Linked DNA regions of Homo sapiens: region 2 is linked to region 1. The links are contacts of gene promoters, found by promoter capture Hi-C in blood cells and fetal thymus (Javierre and others, 2016). All regions are on one chromosome and are shown on one strand. Each heading gives the region's core, a stretch centred on a gene start or on the middle of the fragment in contact. The rest is flanking DNA. Distances are from core to core; before and after follow the strand shown. Region 1 holds the start of DUSP26 (dual specificity phosphatase 26). Region 2 has its middle 210 kb from the start of WRN.

Region 1 (5,990 bases), core at 1,574-4,073:
GGTGGCTCTGGCCTATAATCCCAGCACTTTGGGAGGCTGAGGCGGGCAGACCACCTGAGGTCAGGAGCTTGAGACCAGCCTGGCCAACATGGTGAAACCTAATCTCTACAAAAAATACAAAAATTAGCCAGGTGTGGTGGCATGCACTTGTCATCCCAGCTACTCAGGAGGCGACACACAAGAATTGCTTGAACTGGGGAGGCAGCAGTTGCAGTGAGCCAAGATCACACCACTGCACTCCAGCCTAGGAGACAGAGCAAGACTCTGTCTTAAAAAAAAAAAAAAGAAAAAAAAATCGCCAGGCATTGTGGCATGCACCTGTATAGTCCCAGCTACTTAGGAGGCTGAGGCAAGAGGATCGTTTAAAAGAGGATGGTTTAAGCCCAGGAGGTTGAGGCTGCAGTGAGCTATGATTTTACCACTGCACTCCAGCCTGAGACCCTGCCTCAAAAAAAAATCAAAAAAACAAACAAAAAAACAAAACAAAACAAAACAAAAGAAATCAAGTGGGCTATAGATCGACTCATGAAAATGATCCTCACGGATATGTCAGTCCCCAGGTAATTTCTATAATTACCCATAAACAGCTGTACACATTGTCTGTGGTGTACTTTAAACTGTATTTTCCCCGCTTTTTGAAAAAAGTGTAATGCAGGGTTGAAACAGAGGTCTTGTCAAAGATTGAGATCAGCTTTACCTACAACATCCTCTCAACCTACCAATCTTGAAGACTTTTCACTTAAAATGACATTGATCTTCACCTGAGGTCGGGAGTTCGAGACCAGCTTGGCCAACATGGAGAAACCCTGTCTCTACTAAAAAATACCAAATTAGCCAGGCATGGTGGCACATGCCTGTAATCCCAGCTACTTGAGAGGCTGAGGCAGGAGAATCGCTTGAACCCGGGAGGTGGAGGTTGCGGTGAGCTGACATTGCACCATTGCACTCCAGCCTGGGCAAAAAGAGCAAAACTCCGTCTCAAACAAACAAACAAAAAAAAGATATTGATCTTGTAAGTGCTCTTTCACAATTCCTTTTATGATAATGTTTTAACTAGGTTTGCAAATTAAATCCAAATTTTAATTTGGATGCGCAAATTAAAATCTCAAATTTCTCAGGTCAATTCCTTGGGGTTTTTTGTTGTTTGTTTGATTGTTTATTTTCGCTTTTGTTTGTTTGTTGAGAGGGAGCCTCGCTCTGTCGCTCAGGCTGGAGTGCAGTGGCATGATCTCAGCTCATTACAACCTCCACCTTCCATGTTCAAGTGATTCTCCCACCTCAGCTTCCCAAGTAGCTGGGACTACAGGCGCCTGCCACCACACCCGGCTAATTTTTGTTTTTTAGTAGAGATGGGGTTTCACCATGTTGGCCAGGCTGGTCTCGAACTCCTGACCTCAGGTGATCTGCCCACCCTGGCCTCCCAAAGTGCTGGGATTACAGGTGTGAGCCACCATGCCCTGCCTCTTTGTTTTAAATGACAAGGATTTCATTTCATATTTAAACTGCTGTAACACAAGGGACAAGGAAAAGTGAAAAGAATTTTGTTTCTCTAGAGAAAAAAAAAGGCTAGGCGGTACATTAAACTTGGATGGCAGCCTGTCATGGAACCTGGGGATTGGTCACATTGGCCAGTACTTTCTCTAACCCAGAGATCAAAACCTGATCTGCCACCACTGCTGGGAATGGAGTCAGTCCTGGTTTCAGCTATAGCTGACACCATCAGCTTCAATCTGAGCCAATCTACTTTCTGCCTTTCTTCTAGTAGACAGCGAGAGTTCAAGCCAGCCTAGTTCTCAACAGCATCATCTGCTAACATTTATCATCTCCCCCACTTCCCTCTCACACAATAAGGTAGGCACTGGGGAAGGTAGCACAGTCCCTGCCTTCAAAGTGCTTACAATCTTGGTGCTTACAATAAAAATGCCGATCAAGTGAATATGTCACTAGAAGGCAGCACATGAGAAATTAATATGAAGATGGCCGGACACAGTGGCTCATGCCTGTAATCTGAGCACTTTGAGAGAAGGTGGGTGGATCACCTGAGGTCAGGAGTTCAAGACCAGCCTGGTCAACATGGTGAAACCCCATCTGTACTAAAAAACAAACAAACAAAGAAAAAATATATACAAAAAATTAGCCAGGCATGGAGGCGGGCGCCTGTAATCCCAGCTACTTGGGAAGCTGAGGCAGGAGAATGGCTTGAACCTGGGAGGCGGGTTACAATGAGCCAAGATTGCGCCACTGCACTCCAGCCTGGGCGACAGAGTGGGACTGCATCTCAAAAAAGAAAGAAAGAAATATGAAGATGAATGTTTTGAGAGTCTGGGGAAAGTGAAGTTCACTATGAGCTGAGCTGGTGGAAATGGCTTCCTGAATGAAGGAAATCCATGGTGCCTTCTCCATTTTGTGGGAGGCACTGGTTTAGAGAGTGGTTAAGGACATAAACTGCAAAGCCAGGCTGCATTGTTTGAACAAGCTCAGCTCTGCCAGTAACGAGCTGTGTGACCAGGGCAGAGTACCTAGCCTCTCTGTGCCTAGGTCGCCTCCTCCCTAAAATTAGGACAATAGTAATTATGTCTCCCTCATAGACTTGTGGGGAGTATAAAATGCCTTAAGCTAAATGAAGCACATGGCATATAATGAAGGCTAATGGGGGCTTCGGACCATTGTTCTTTATGACACGGTTTCTTGAGACCGAGGCATGTACAAGCCAGTGCACAGAATCGTGTCTATGTAATTAGTTAATTCTGTCTGGGAGGAGTGTGTGTGTTTAAGACAGTGCCTGGGATGACTTATAATGTAATCTTTAGGCAAAACGCTTTGTAATTGGTGCAGCTCTGAGAACACACGCATGCATTCCAGGCGGTGCTGCTGGGGCTCGGCGGGGCCGTGTCTGGTCTGCAAGGCGCGCGGGCTCGTGGGGGGTTGGCTGGGGAGCCCACGCTGCCTGGCGACTCGGGCCACCGAATGTGAGACCGAGTCCCTTTATGTCACCAGCGCACACGCTGATTTGAACCCTGCTTCGACGTGTGTGTCATGGCTTAAAAATAGCTGCTAATCTGTCAACCTGTCTTGGGCAGAAACAGCGGCGGCGACAGCAGCAGGAGCGTCATGGCCGTGGCGCTGTCTGCGCCGGCGATCCGCCTTTCGGACTGAGGCCCAGCGCAGCGCTTGCAAAGAGGTAGAGGGGCTGCGGCGGGCCTTCGCCTTTTCAGCTGGCTCTCCACGCTGGGGAGAGGCGCCCAGCTAGGGGCGACGGGGGAGGGAGGGGACCGGGAAGCGGGCACCCGAGCCCAGCGAGCCAGCCTCTCTCTCCCGGGCGCCCTCCCTCCGCGCGCGGGGCCCGGCTGCCAGGCTGGCGAGGACTGGGGCGACAGCCATGGACCTGTTACAAAGGCGACCGCAGGCGGAGGGAGGGAGCGGCGGGCCAGGGCCCCTGGAGCCGACGGATGGGATTGGAGAATGCCCAGGGCTGTATCCCTGGACAGAAAGGGGCTTCTGCATCCCCCGGGAAAAACAGCCCCACGGAGATCCTTCTTAGACCTGGGCTCCTTCACGCTTCCCCCATCCCATTCATCATCTCGTAGACAGCAGACTCTCTAAGAGGAAAGGTTGTATTGCAATACAGTAATGGGGTCTTTAGGCCTGGGTGCAAAGGTAGAAGAAGATGATGGTGATAGTGATGGTGGTGATGGTGGTAGTGATGATGGTGATGGTGGTGGTGATGATGGCTGTAGTGCTATATTTCTGTGCTCCTTCCGGACCCAGCCATTGAAAACTCTCTCTCCCTAAACTCCCTAACATCCAATCTTCCCTCACCAATCCTGGTCCTAAAACCCCTGCTTCTAATGCCTTGTAAGTGCTTGGTTTCTCTTGGCACTGGAGCAAGGGAGAGCTGGGCCCTGTCTAGGGGTGTGAGATGGGGACAGAGCATGGGCAGGGACAAAGATGGCCTCTCACTGCTGGTCATAGAGTTGAAGTCCCCCTGGCAGGAGGCCAGGAAGGGAGTGGAAGGGGATTCTGCAGGCTCCAGGACCTCCTGCTTTCAAACAGGCAGGACCACAGGTGTGAGAGGATGGGGAGGGAGGGGGAAGGGGCCTTGCCATTGTTGCCTCCCTGCCTGAAGGTCCCAGGGCAAGCCTCAAACGCTGGTCCTTCCCAGCTCTGCAGCTCAACAGGTAATCTGAGACACACCTGCTAAGCCCCTCGTTATTGACCTCGTGTTTTGTAGGGTCACTTGACTCCAACAGCCATACGGTTGGTAATTCTAAGCCTCTGAGCCCCTGGACCTGGCAGGATCCCTCATTTTTCCCTTTCCTTCCTGCTTTCTAGGCCCCCACCACCCACCCCTGTCCCCCCTCCCCTCAAGACACACACAGACAAAACACTCCAACCCTGCGTCAATTCCCCCACCATCCACCTCTGTCACCCTCCCCTCAAGACACACACAGACAAAACACTCCAACCCTGCTTAGATTCAGAAATTCTCACATTAGAGCTGAGATCTGATCAGTAATTTCCTAATGCTGATCCAAGGAGGGTGGTTTGCCTGTTGTGCACATAGATTGGTGCCTTCTTCCATAAGCTCATGCATTCAGCAAGTATTTATTTTTTGCAAACTTACTCTTCCTCTTTATTGCTATTCTCCACTCACCCCATCCCACCCCCACCACACCCTTCCCATAGCAGGTTTATCTCTGAGGCAGTGGCAGGTCACGAAGGGGTTAAAGTCTAACTCTGGCACAGAGATGGCAGGCCTGACATGTGTCATGGCCTCAGCTGCTGTTGTCTCCCTGCTAATTCTCTTTGGATGGGTCTAAAGGTACCCCCAACCCCATCCCAGCTCCCTAGGCTCTCTGCCGATAGCCCCAGGCAGATGAGACTCAGATTCCAGCTGGCAAGATCCCCAGCAGTGGGGACAACCACCCAAGTGCCGTGTGTGTGTGTGTGTGTGTGTGTGTGTATGCGTGCTGGCAGTGGGGGTGGGGTGATGAAGCTGAAACCTAGCAGCTGGGCAGCTCCCTCTCCCCGTAAACAAGGACATGTGACTCTCCCACCTCGTTTCGTGGCAGAGCCAAAGAGCTGAGCAAAAGGAGCTGCTGCAGCTTGAAGAAAAAGCCACCCCTGAAGGCTCCTGCCAGAGCCAGGCTTACCTTCTCTCCCTCGAGAATCTTCTCCCGAAGGACCAGCCCAGGGAAGGGAAGCAGCTGCTCTGGACTCACTCAAGTGTGTCTCACACCCCTTCCTCTTCCAGCAGCAGCTACCTGGCAACTGAACCCATCATCACCACAGCCACTCCTGCAGCTGCCACGGTTTCTGCCACCTCTAAGATGTGCCCTGGTAACTGGCTTTGGGCTTCTATGACTTTTATGGCCCGCTTCTCCCGGAGTAGCTCAAGGTCTCCTGTTCGAACTCGAGGGACCCTGGAGGAGATGCCAACCGTTCAACATCCTTTCCTCAATGTCTTCGAGTTGGAGCGGCTCCTCTACACAGGCAAGACAGCCTGTAACCATGCCGACGAGGTCTGGCCAGGCCTCTATCTCGGAGACCAGTATGTATCGGGCAGACTGGGCCCACGGTAGAGCGTGTGTGTGTTTGTGTGTGTAAGAAAGGAGAAGGGTGGCAGACAGGTATGCAGTGGTGTCATTGGTTCCTGGTTGAAGATTGAGGGGATAGGGCACATGGGCCAAGAGTAGAGGCTGCAGGTTTGGGAGAGTTTGGCCAGGATTATTGAAATGCCCAACTCTGGCCAGTCACAGTGTCTCTTGCCTGTGATCCCAGCAGTTTGAAAGGCTGAGGCAGGAGTATCTAGAGTACAGGAGTTCTAGACCAGCCTGAGCAACAAAACCAGACCCCATCTCTACTTATTATTTTAAAATAAAATAAATAAAATAAAAATACCCAAGTCTGGACAGAAAGACTCTGTTCCAGTAATAATATCATTCATGTATCACATATTTATTATTACATGCCAGTGCTACATACCAGGC
Region 2 (5,990 bases), core at 1,404-3,903, 2.4 Mb after region 1:
ACCCTGAGCCAAAACACCCTACACCTCTTTCCCATCTCAGATCATGCCTTGCTGCATGGTCTAATCTACCTCACCAAAAAGTGTGCAAGGAACACAAAAGACATTTTTAAATCCCCAAATTCTTTAGCAACTATATAACAGAATGTACCAAATTGAAACAATATGAAGCCTTTCAAGTAGTAAATGGATAGAGAGAAATCGGGCTCCAGAAATAAGTCCTCTTATATATTATAGCTGAAAAAAATCAATCCCAAAATTTTCACCCTCTCTAAAATTCTTATTCTGCTTAGCCTTAGACAGTGAGTCTCACATTGATGCCTGGGAGGGTCAGGCCTCTGCTTCAGGAGACACAGCCTGAAATGTCACAAAATAAGCACCTTCATCACTTCCCAAGTTGAATTAACCAAACTCAAGTCTCTCCCCTTAAACTACTTATCCAAAGAATCAAAGTAAATAGAAAAATAAGACAGCAAGCCCTACCACCCCAGGCACAAACTGTAGAGAACACAAACAAATAACCAAGCCCCACCGTAGTTACTCCAAACAAATTATCTTCCCAAAATCTGGTATTTAACACAATCCAGAATCACATTAGGAGAAATATACCATAAAAAAGCTAACTGTGGCCGGGCACAGTGGCTCACATCTGTAGTGCCAGCACTTTGGGAGGCTGAGGCAGGAGGATGACTTGAGCCCAGGAGTTCAAGACCAGTCTGGACAAAATGGAGAGATCCTATCTCTACAAAAAAATTAAAAAATAAAGCTAATTGTGATGGGATGCACACCTTTTGCTAGGTAAAATAATTCACCTATACATACTGCACCCTCTCCCAGAAGGACGTTTGAAACATCTCTGCCTTCTAGCAAAATACAGATATTTTTAAGGTGGTGCCTCCAAGTCTCCCGGTCTTCTCTGAGACTTCACTCTCCCAGCAATGCCCACCTTATCTATTTTAAAGCCTTTTTTTTTTTTTTTTTTCTCGGAGACAGATCCTTGCTGTCTTGCCTAGGCTGGAGTGCAGTGGCGCAATCTCAGCTCACTGCAACCTCTGCCTCCCGAGTTCAAGCAATTCTCCCTGCCTCAGCCTCTCGAGTAGCTGGGATTACAGGCACCCACCATCACACCCAGCTATTTTTATATTTTTTAGTAGAGACAGGGTTTCGCCATGTTAGCCAGGCTGGTCTTGAACTCCTAAACTCAGGCAATCTGCCCACCTCGGCCTACCAAAGTACTGGGATTAGAGGTAATGAGCCCCCAAGCCCGGCCTATTTTAAAGCCTTTTAATGTCCAGTTTCCCTTTGAGCCTTGTGTTCATACCACCTTCATACCTAATTGGTTCAGAATTCAGACAGGGAACAGTGACATTTATAAATGGGCTGCCCTTCAAACAACAATCTATTAACCATAATAAGATCCCCCTTCCCAAGCCCCATCTGTAAAGAAACACAGATATGACATATTTCATATCTGTCTGACCTGACTTGTAAGACCTCAGCTTGTCTCCTAAGAAAATTCTTTCCTTCCTCCAGCTCAATTAACAACCTTTCCTTAGTTTTCCTTTCACTTCCCAAGTATTTCCATTCTCAAGTCAAACCCAAAGCCTCATTTTTAAACCATCCTATTTCTCCTTCAGTTTCAAGACAAACCTGATTCTTCCATTTCCTTTCATTTCCTTCTAAATTTTAGAGTAATTCAAATGAATTTATTCTCGGCAGGGCATCGTGGCTCATGCCTGTAATCCCAACACTTTGGGAGGCTGAGGAGAAAAGATTGCTTGAAGCCAGGAGTTCAAGACCAGCCTGGGCATCATAGCAAGACGTTGTCTATACAAAAAATAAAAAAATTAGGCATGGTGGCACGCATCTGTAGTCCTAGCTACTTGAGAGGCTGAGGTAGGAGAATCACTTAAGCCCAGGAGTTTGAGGCTGCAGTAAGCTATGATGGCACCACTGTACTCCAGCCTGGGCAACAGAGCAAGACTCTGCCTCTTAAAAAATTTTTTTAATTTTAAAAAATTTACTCTCATCGTCAGCATAAAAAGATGAGGTAACCCCTATACTTCAATGACCTTCAGTGACCCTTGAGTTTATAACATTTGACACAAAACAATTGTAAAATGCGATGGTAACAGTAATTAAAGGAAATATGTGGGTTGTATGAGACCCGGCATCTCAAGAGGTAGTTTTGATCCACAAATCAGTTTGTGCATATTTTTTTCCTCTAGAATTGATGGATCGCTTAAGCATATTTATACTGTCCTTCCTCAAAGGAAAGATCAGTATCTTCCTTCTTTTTTATTCCCAGCTTTAAGCATAATATCCTACATGTAGAAAAGGCTCTGTGGAGTCAAGCACAGTGGCTCATGCCTGTAATCCCAGCACTCTGGGAGGCTGAGGCAGGTGAATCACTTGAGTTCAGGAGTTCAAGACCAGCCTGGCCAACATGGCAAAACCTTGTCTCTACTAAAAATACAAAAATTAGCCAGGTATGGTGGCAGGCACCTGTAATCCCAGCTACTTGGGAGGCTGAGAGAGGAGAATTGCTTGAACCCAGAAGGCAGAGGTTGCAGTCAGCCGAGGCCGTGCCACTCTACTCCAGACTGGGTGACAGACTGAGACTCCATCTCAAAAAAAAAAAAAAAAAAAAAAAAATGCTCTGTGGACCAGGCATGGTGGCTCACAGCAAGATTACAGGTGTGAGCCACCACGCCCAGCCCACAGCACTTTGGGAGGCTGAGGTAGGAGGATCGCTTGAGTACAGAAGGTTGAGGCTGCAGTGAGCTAAGATGGTGCCACTGTGTTTCAGCCTGGGTGACAGAGCAAGGCCCTGTCTCAAAAAAAAAATAAAAAGGAAATAAGAAAGGGCTCCGTGACTTGGGAAGCACTCCTATGCCTCCTAACAACAACTAAAATCTGAGTCCTATATTCTGTTGTGACCAATTTTCCCTGCACTTGTCTCTGAGCCAAGAGAGCAGGGTCTGGTTTCTGCCTAGGCAGTAAGTGGTTGCATAACTCTGGAGGGTGCTTTCACCTCAGCAGGGCTTGCTTGCCTCAGTTATGAAATGAGTGGATGGAACTTGAACTATCTCCAACATCTCTTCCAGCTCTGTGTTGCCATAAGAATTACTCTTCCATCTTTTAAAGAAGTGGGTGTTATGTTTGGTTTTGTTTTAACAGAATCTCGCTCTGTCACCAGGCTAGAGTGCAGTGGCGAGATCTCAGCTCATTGCAACCTCTGCCTCCCGGGTTCAAGTGATTCTCCTGCCTCAGCATCCCGAGTAGCTGGGACTACAGACGTGCTGCACCAGGCCCAGCTAATTTTTGTATTTTCAGTAGAGACAGGGTTTCACCATGTTGGCCAGGCTAGTCTCTAACTCCTGACCTCAAGTGATCCACCTGTCTCGGCCTCCCAAACTGCTAGGGTTATAGGCATGAGCCACCATACCAGGCCAGAAGTGTGCATTTTGACAGTTAAGATGTTATACCTGTGGGAAGAATATAAGTCATTGTGGAACACACATAGAAGAACTAACTTGATTGTTCACGTAGAGCAGTTAGCAGAGCTTCAAAAAGTACATATGTCATTAGACAGGGAAATACTGAGTTTAAAGTAGGAAAAAGTGGTACATGAATCTACCCTTCAGTAGAATCGTCAGCAGGCAGCAGGCAGCCTGAGGCGCCCAGTGCTTCAGAAGGCTTATCCACAGAGGCAGAGGCTCTCAGGGGAAGGTAGCATGGAGACCTGGGCCATCCTCATGCTTGGCACAAGTCTACCAAGGGGCAGCCTTAGTTCTGCAAAGAAGAGGGAGTCGAACTGATTATTTACCTCTGACATGACCCAGGAAGCTAGCATTTGCAGATTCCCTTCCTTTTTTTTTTTAGATAGGTCAATAATTCTTTCATAACTGCTTTTCTGTCTTGGGTTCCTGCACTTTATTGGATCTGACTGTTGCCTTTAATAATTCAGCCCACAGTGGCATCCTCACACAGCTGGGTTCTCTCTAAGTGTTCTATAAATGGACATACTAATATCTATGGGGCTTCTCACAGCACATCTGCTTCCTTGGACTTTCAAACACCCCACCTTGGTGAGAATGCCCTCTCTTCCAATAAAGGACTAGGTGTCACGGCATTTCAAAATACAAGTCCTGGACACACACAGCACACTGTTGGTTCAGGATATCAAAGGGGCTACTGGGGAGAAAAGCTATTAGGGACAGCTGGCGGGCCTGATTCTATAAAACAGCAGGGTTAATGGCACATTTATCCAACAGCTAAGATCAGGAATTAAACCTTAATACTCTATAAGAAAAGCAAACAGAAACTCGATCAGGCTTAAAGAAAAATTGTGTATCACTGAGAAGTGAAAAATAAATCAATTCTTCAATCACATTCACAAAGTTTCCCAGGGAGAAACTCAGTGTTTTTTTGTTTTTGTGTTTTTGTTTTTGTTTTTTTAATCTATAGGCCCAAATTCTACTCACTGTACTCACCATGCACAAACACACAGACATGGACACATTCACGTACACAGAGCTACAAAATATTTAAATCCCACCAATTTCATTTACATACTTAATTATACCAATCAACATTTTAGTGCTGATAAATGCACAAAATTGTGTTTCAAATTTTTTTTATTCTATTTCTTCTTGCAACATTAAGCACACTGAATGGTGTTTTTGTTTTGTTTTGGTTTGGTTTTTTGAGACAGTCTCTCTCTGTCACTCAGGATGGAGTGCAGTGGAGTGATCACGGCTCACTGCAGCCTCCACCTCCTAGTGAGAGATGACAGCCTGCTGGCAGCCCTCGCTCACTCTTGGCGCCTCCTCGGCCTTGGCGCCCACTCTGGCCACGCTTGAGGAGCCCTTCAGCCCACCACTGCACTGTGGGAGCCCCTTTCTGGGCTGGCCAAGGCCGGAGCCGGCTCCCTCAGCTTGCGGGGAGGTGTGGAGGGAGAGGCGGGAGCGGGAACCGGGGCTGTGCGCGGCGCTTGCTGGCCAGCGTGAGTTCCGGGTGGGCGTGGGCTCGGTGGGCCCCGCACTTGGAGCTGCCGGCCGCCCGACCGGCCCTGGGCAGTGAGGGGCTTAGCACCTGGGCCAGCAGCTGCCGTGCTCGATTTCTCACTGGGCCTTAGCTGTCTCCCCATGGGGCAGGGCTGGGGACCTGCAGCCCACCATGCCTGAGCCTCCCCCACCATGCCGTGGGCTCCTGCGCGGCCCGAGCCTCCCCAACGAGCACTGCTCCCTGCTCCACAGAGCCCAGTCCTATCGACCACCCAAGGGCTGAGGAGTGCGGGCTAACGGCTGGGACTGGCAGGCAGCTCCACCTGCCACACTGGTGCGGGATCCACTGGGTGAAGCCAGCTGGGCTCCTGAGTCTAGTGGGGACTTGGAGAACCTTTATAAAGTCTAGCTAAGGGATTGTAAACACACCAGTCAGCACGCTGTGTCTAGCTCAGGGTTTGTAAATGCACCAATCGGCACTCTATATCTAGTTAATCTGGTGGGGACTTGGAGAATCTTTGTCTAGCTAAGGGATTGTGAATGCACCAATAGACACTCTGTATCTAGCTAATCTAGTGGAGAGGTGGAGAACTTTTGTGTCTAGGTCAGGGACTGTAAATGCACCAATCAGCACCCTGTCAAAATGGACCAATCAGCTCTCTGTAAAACACACCAATCGGCTCTCTGTAAAATGGACCAATCAGCAGGATGTGGGTGGGGCCAGATAAGGGAATAAAAGCAGGCTGTGCCAGCCAGAAGTGGCAACCCGCTGGGGTCTCCTTCTACACTTTGGAAGCTTTGTTCTTACGCTCTTTAAAATAAATCTTGCTGCTGCTCACTCATTGGGTCCACACTGCCTTTATGAGCTGTAGCACTCACCATGAAGGTCTGCAACTTCACTCCTGAAGCCAGCGAGACCACGAACCCACCAGAAGGAAGAAACTCTGAACACATCTGAACATCAGAAGGAACAAACTCCAGACA

Evidence for each region. Contacts are between HindIII fragments. The CHiCAGO score rates a contact against its expected background, and 5 or more counts as called.
Region 2: a fragment that was not itself captured here is called in contact with the fragment with the promoter of DUSP26 in region 1 in 5 of 17 cell types (activated CD4 T cells, total CD4 T cells, total CD8 T cells and 2 more); the score reaches 18.2 in activated CD4 T cells.

The regions. Positions count from the first base shown.
Region 1 is chr8:33,596,856-33,602,845 of GRCh38, reverse strand. It overlaps DUSP26 (dual specificity phosphatase 26), which reads left to right and starts at 2,823. Exons shown (of 4, transcript NM_024025.3): 1 at 2,823-3,181; 2 at 5,255-5,551. The coding sequence starts at 5,331. RefSeq lists an enhancer at 4,657-5,157. The HindIII fragment of the contact is 17,028 bases long and covers 1-5,990 here.
Region 2 is chr8:31,243,453-31,249,442 of GRCh38, reverse strand. No RefSeq gene overlaps it. Among named protein-coding and RNA genes, the nearest start is that of WRN, 210 kb to the right of the region's middle. The HindIII fragment of the contact is 6,303 bases long and covers 1-5,804 here.